Linked DNA regions of Homo sapiens: region 1 is linked to region 2. Evidence: promoter capture Hi-C in 16 types of primary human blood cells and fetal thymus (Javierre and others, 2016). All regions are on one chromosome and are shown on one strand. The core of a region is centred on a gene start or on the middle of the fragment in contact, and the rest is flanking DNA. Distances in the headings are between cores, read along the strand shown. Region 1 overlaps MLEC (malectin). Region 2 holds the start of TRIAP1 (TP53 regulated inhibitor of apoptosis 1).

Region 1 (3,363 bases), core at 855-3,354, 250 kb after region 2:
CAACCCTGAGGACCAGATCCTGTATCAAACTGAGCGGTACAATGAGGAGACCTTTGGCTACGAAGTGCCCATCAAAGAGGAGGGGGACTACGTGCTGGTCTTGAAATTTGCAGAGGTCTACTTTGCACAGTCCCAGCAAAAGGTGAGGCCTAGTCAGGCTGCTGCTTGACCAGTAGGACATTGCTGCTCTTGGACAATCCACGATTATGGGGCTAGAGAGTGTGAGAGTCTCTCCAGAAAGGCAGAACAGATGAGCTCTAGAGAAGCATGTTCCATAGTGCACAAGGCTGCACTTGCCTTGGGGGTGAGTGACAGAAAGCAATGCCAGAATCCTTGTTTTGCCAACTAACTGATCCTGTTAAGGCCCTCCTGGCTACTTCCCTCCATGGTTTGCCGCACCTTCTTGTTTTTAGCCTTATTTTTCCTCTGTCCCTTCCTGTGAATTTCCTTCTTCCTATGCTAAGCTTTTTGTTTGTATTCTTTGTTCCTTAAAGCCAATATAAGAACTCCTGGGCAGTGAAGGAACACGGCTTTGATTTGACCCGGGTTAAGGATGCTAACCACCCTGGATATCCAGACCCATCATTTCTTAAATTATTTTTGAACTTCAAGCCCAAACACGTGCATGATGTCCAACTGCTTGAAAGGATGTAAAGCTGATGGTTTTGACATTGTTTTCTTTTCTTATCCTGGAAGGTATTTGATGTACGATTGAATGGCCACGTCGTGGTGAAGGACTTGGATATCTTTGATCGTGTTGGGCATAGCACAGCTCACGATGAAATTATACCTATGAGCATCAGAAAGGGGAAGCTGAGTGTCCAGGGGGAGGTGTCCACCTTCACAGGGAAACTCTACATTGAGTTTGTCAAGGTAATTCCCCTATTCTGCCCATTGCTGAAGAGAGTGGGTACAGGGGAAGTTGTTTGCTGCTGTGTGGGGTTGACCACTGTTTCCCTTTTCCTAGGGGTACTATGACAATCCCAAGGTCTGTGCACTCTACATCATGGCTGGGACAGTGGATGGTAGGTTGTGTTCTGACCTGCTTTTTTGACTTGAGTGGAGGGATATGGTTGAGGAAGCCCTTGGGAGGTAATTGAGCTGATGACTATTTTGGAAACACTTAAAGCTAAATTGTAGGGGATTCAGAATCAGTTGGATAAGGATGAAGCATAACATGGTACTAGCCACAAGCTTTGGAGTCAGGTCTATGTATATCTTGTTGCTGCCATTTAATCAGATGTTTGTCTTGGATGGATGCTTTTAATTTCCCTATAAATTGGGATTAATAATGGTACCTATTGGTGTACCCTGACCTTTGTAGTCATTTGGGATCACCTAAAACTTGTCCTTATTCTGTTTGTTTGACATCTCTTTCCTAGGGGAAAAAAAGGTAAAAGGAGGAGTCCTGTAGGCTTTTGGTATGCTCTGAAAGATTCCAGCATTGCTGGACTGCACTGGGACAAAACTTCACTTATTTATGTCTCCTTATCCTTGGGATCAAGTCTTAGAGTATATTTCTTTCTCAGGGTTTAGATTCTCCTGGCTGCCAGCATCTCAGGCTGATTTTTGCAGAGAAAGCTGCGTCTTTGTGACATTTCTCCCCCATTCCACCTCTGTACCTTTCCCCAACTCAATCTTGAATGCACTGAGGATTTCATCCTGTTGTCTTGATGTCCCCCAAATGCTGATATTATGACATCTAGGAGGATGAATGTCTTACCACCAAACAGACCTGTGTTCAAGTCCCTGAGGAGGAGGCAGGACAGAGGGATAGTGTGTGCTGGGAACCCAGAACTCTCTGGGTCAACGTTTCTTCAGTTGTTGTGTGAATCAAAAGGGAATGTGGGCTTGTGGGAGGAGGAGGGATTTGAAAAGGCTAAAGTTTAGGCATTGGATCATTGTCCCTGTCCAGTCTGGTTATCTTGGGGCTCTGTAAAAGTAGAACAGGAAGGTAAGATAGTGAACCTCCCTATGAGCACGGCTTTTTCTACTTTCTAGTTAAATCTAAAGCTTTTGCAGCACTCTGCTGTTCTGTAGACCAGAGGCTATTTCTGCTACTTCTGGTCTTTTCTCTGGACCCGGGTTCAATCACAGCAATCTCTTTATTGTGGCTTATTTGCTGCTTTTAAGGGTCTCTCTTACTTAAATGCTGTGGGTCTTAACAGTGTTTTCTTCCTTGTGTTAGATGTACCAAAGCTTCAGCCTCATCCGGGATTGGAGAAGAAAGAAGAGGAAGAAGAAGAAGAAGAATATGATGAAGGGTCTAATCTCAAAAAACAGACCAATAAGAACCGGGTGCAGTCAGGCCCCCGCACACCCAACCCCTATGCCTCGGACAACAGCAGCCTCATGTTTCCCATCCTGGTGGCCTTCGGAGTCTTCATTCCAACCCTCTTCTGCCTCTGCCGGTTGTGAGAACAAATGACTATCCTGAACAGGGTGGAGGGGTGTGGGAAAGAAACCAGCCATATTGGTTTTGGTTTCTGTATTTTTCACAATGATTAATGAACAAAAACAAAGAGAAAAAAACACACATCAATTAAAGGAGACAAAAAGAGGCAGAGCGAGTAGAGAGCAGCCCTCATTCACCACCTGGTCCCAGACGTGCTTCAGTCCTCGTCCTCTCTTTGTGGCTGGCTCCCAGCCTTCTCTTTCCTCTTGAGGATACTTAGGGTAAACTGGATCCTTCCTGCTCAAGGATCCTCATTTGTATACCTAGTGGAAAGGACTCTGAACTCAGAGGAGTCACTGTTCCTTTTTTTAGGTTAGAAATTAACAGCAGGGAAATGCCATCTTATTACCTGAGACGACCAGCACTGGGAGTTAGGTACGGTCTGAAGTTATGTCTAGATAAGACTTCAGACGTCCTGGGATTGAAAGAATGTGTGTGAAGGGGTAGAATTTGTGCGGTAAAGACTTAAAAAAAAAAGTAGGGAGATTAAAAAAAAAGAAAGAAAATGCTTCCTTATCTGGAAGCCTTTCTGGATTAATCCAGTGATGGTCCCACCTTTAGTGTTTGAGCTTTGTCATTGCTTGTCTCCCTGGCATGTGCCAGTTATAGACTGTCCAGCATCCAAGACGTTTCGGTTATGTCGGGTCCTCAGATCGCCTCTGACTTGTTACCACAACAAATCATTTTGATTTCAGTGCCTGTTGGGGACTTGATTTCTTCTCAGTTTTGTTTGTTTGTTTGTTTCCTTAATCTGGCTCATTTGAAATTTCTTCTCCCTCTCAACCATCCCACTAAGTTATAGCCAAGAAGGGAAGGAGACACGGGGATTTGGGGTTCTCTGCTTGAATGTCTTCTCCTTTACCACCTCACCTTGTTGGTACCTCCCTCCCTGGATCTCTGAGCCAGCA
Region 2 (3,248 bases), core at 671-3,170:
GAGGTCCTAACCAATTGCTTTCATAAATAGTGACCCCAGTACAGTGTATATGTCTTTTGCAGCAGAAATCAAGAGGTCAGGCAGCTCTGCTCATCCTGACTAGTTTATCATCGTTTGCATACAAGGTATATTTATGTAAAGCTGATTCCACGCCAAGTATTGCAACCATAATCTCAAAAAAATTGTTCAATTTTAGCACACAGTTCCTGCAAGATACCACAGCAGGTGAGAAATCATCTCAAAGAGTTCATCTTTTACAACTGAGAGGAAAACATCGAAGGAGGAAATAAAACTCCTCTCTCCTAAGTTCCTCATCAAATCTGATGGCTATGTTCACAGAGTTAGTTGACAAAAATCCAGAGTCCTCAATTTCTGGACTTGCGAAATCCTTCAAGGTGACTGTCAAGGTCAAGAAGAATTTTCAGGCTTTTCTTTGCCATGGCCCATGAACTCCAGTCCTTCAATAGGAATCTCTTTCTCCTTTATTGCTTTCTGGTAGGAGGAGAAAACACATTATAAAGACCTACATGAAGCTTAAGTTGCAAGCTTTGTAAATAAAATATGACAGTACAAAAGTAAAATCAAGCTGATTATAAAGACTTATAACCATGATTCAAACCACATACTTTTTAAAAAACAAGTACCGGTCAGGTGTGGTGGCTCACGCCTATAATCGCAGCATTTTGGGAGACCAAGGCAGGTGGATCACTTGAGGCCAGAAGTTAGAGACCAACCTGGCCAACATGGCGAGACCCTGTTTATACTAAAAATACAAAAATTAGCTGGGCATGGTGGCGCATGCCTGTAAGCCCAGCTACTCGGGTGGCTGAGGCATGAGAATAGCTTGAACCTGGGAGGCGGAGGTTGCAGTGAGCTGAGATTGTGCCATTGCACTCCAGGCTGGGAGACAGAGTGAGACTCTGCCTCAAAAATAAATAAAAACCAGAAGTACCATAATGAATAAATCAAGTGTAAGACCTGAGGGAGACTGGAAAAGGAGTTGTGAGGGAACCGTTAAAATTAAGTGAAATTTGAAAAATAATCATCACTTTGTGTTAGTGAAAGACTTAGGTTCAAATCTGGGTTCCAGGACTTACTGGCTATGTGACTAACTGTAAATGGGATGAAGACAGCAACTACCTCGGGGAATTGCTGTGAGGATGTGTTGGGTTAACTTATTGGAAGTGCTTTGCCCGGTGCTGTTCTTAACAATTCAAAGCAGTTCCACATCCATTGGGCCAGAATAAACATTTCCTGGCTGCAGTTGCGGGGACTGGTCAAGAGAGAGAAACAGGCTAACGAAGGGTTTATAACAACAAAAAAATGTGACCCTCCAGTCTGAATTCTGAAGTATAATCCCGCCCAGACCCCAGCAGTAATAGTGGAAAAGTGCACCACCTGCGAAAGAACCAAGGAAACCTGATGCTAGTGAACTCGGATTAATCACTTCCTATTTCTGGGTGTTAGTTTTTTATGTATAAAATATGAGTAACTATGCCCACCTTGCGAGTTTAGGGTGAACACCAAATGAACCAAAGGATGTGACTGTGCTTCTTGAAAAGCACTGCCCCAATATTTGTCATTCGGAGAGACACCCAAGTGGCCTCGGTGGTGATGGTAGGGGAGCGAGCTCCTGCCACTGGCCTCACTGCGACTTTTCTCCACCCTTCCAGTCCAGTCCCAATCCCCGTAAAATACGATGAGTGTGGTGGGACACAGCGCCGAGAATGCAGGGCCTGGGAACAGAGGCGGGAGGGCTCACCTGAACACACTGCTGGTAGCGCTTGAAGAGGTCGGTGCACGGGTCCCCGGAGCTGTCCCCCTTGAGAAATTTCTCGGCGAACCAGCGATTGAAGCACTGGTCGTACTCGCGCTTCATGTCCGTGCATGCCTCCCCCACACTGTTCATGGCGACAGTGGTGGCGGCGGCGACGACGGCGCACTCTGATGTCATCACTCTCAGGCGCGTCGCTCGGCGTTACGCGCGGGCGCACTGCGGGGGCCAAGGAAGGAAGAAATGTGGTCGCGGTTGGTGTGGCTGGGCCTTCGGGCCCCTCTGGGCGGGCGCCAGGGCTTCACCTCCAAGGCGGATCCTCAGGTAAAGGCCAGGGCCATCTAGGCGGGTGGCGGAGCAAGCCGGGAGGCACTTCGGAGCGCCGGTGACCCACACTCCCCGCCTCATCCCTCCTCCAGGGCAGTGGCCGGATCACGGCTGCGGTGATCGAGCACCTGGAGCGTCTAGCGCTTGTGGACTTCGGCAGCCGCGAGGCAGTGGCGCGACTGGAGAAAGCTATCGCCTTCGCCGACCGGCTACGCGCCGTGGACACAGACGGGGTGGAGCCCATGGAATCGGTCCTGGAGGACAGGTAAACTCGCGGCTGCAGCCCCGAAGCCTTGACCGTGGCCCGTTCGCAGCCGTTTAATGTGACGATTAGCGAACAGTTTTCCAGGGGGTTAAAGAGTGTTAGCAAGATTCAGGAACTTGCCCACAGTCACCTCGCGAGTCAGTGGCTTCACTCTTCCCCTTGTTCATTACTGATGCTCTCGCTAGTGTAAGTGGAAACAAAACCCGAACTGCTAATCACTGCCTTTGTTTTTTTTTTTGTTTGTTTGTTTTGTTTTTTTTTTTTTGAGACGGAGTCTCGCTGTGTTGCCTAGGCTGGAGTGCAGTGGCTCGATCTCGGCTCACTGCAACCTCCGCCTCCCGTGTTCAAGCAATTCTCTGCCTCAGCCTCCCGAGTAGCTGGGATTACAGGCGACTGCCACCAGGCCCGGCTTATTTTTTTTGTATTTTTAGTAGAGACGTGGTTTCACCATCTTGGCCAGGTTGGTCTTGAACTCCTGACCGTGATCCACCCGCCTCGGCCTCCCAAAGTGCTGGGATTACAGGTGTGAGCCACCGCGCCTGGCCTAATCATCGCCTTTAAGGCCCTACTCCATAGAGTCCCTACCTACTCACTCCAACGTACTCTTCTCAGTACTCTCCTTGGCTACCTTGACTGCTTCTCCAGCAAGACAAGTTCTTTTCCTCTCTAGATCTCTGCACTGGCCCTTCGTTTTTTTCCTTCCTCTCAGTATTTGCATGGCTGCCTCCCTCTTGGCACAGGTCTCAGCTTATCTTCTCAGAAAGGGCTCTCCTAACCACTCCAAATCCCTTCTCCCCTTCTAGTTAGTAACTCATCCTATTGGGTTTTTTCCCTAACATTTTAATGGACTTTTGTTCATTTGTTATATCTCTTTTATTAAAA

What was found. The method cuts DNA at HindIII sites, captures the fragments that hold promoters and counts their contacts. A CHiCAGO score of 5 or more calls a contact.
Region 1: a contact is called between a fragment that was not itself captured here and the fragment with the promoter of TRIAP1 in region 2, in 1 of 17 cell types (M1 macrophages). The highest score is 6.4, in M1 macrophages.

What each region holds. Positions count from the first base shown.
Region 1 is chr12:120,694,128-120,697,490 of GRCh38, forward strand. MLEC (malectin) reads left to right here. Exons shown (of 5, transcript NM_014730.4): 2 at 1-142; 3 at 697-873; 4 at 968-1,025; 5 at 2,189-3,363. The coding sequence ends at 2,418. Among named protein-coding and RNA genes, the nearest start is that of MLEC, 8.7 kb to the left of the region's middle. The HindIII fragment of the contact is 186 bases long and covers 2,012-2,197 here.
Region 2 is chr12:120,444,464-120,447,711 of GRCh38, forward strand. TRIAP1 (TP53 regulated inhibitor of apoptosis 1) reads right to left here and starts at 1,921. Exons shown (of 2, transcript NM_016399.3): 1 at 1,763-1,921; 2 at 1-492. The coding sequence starts at 1,909. The coding sequence ends at 409. GATC (glutamyl-tRNA amidotransferase subunit C) reads left to right here and starts at 1,981. Exons shown (of 4, transcript NM_176818.3): 1 at 1,981-2,098; 2 at 2,194-2,366. The coding sequence starts at 2,018. RefSeq lists enhancers at 1,103-1,950, 1,262-2,461, 1,676-2,225, 1,823-2,117, 1,951-2,796. The HindIII fragment of the contact is 13,544 bases long and covers 545-3,248 here.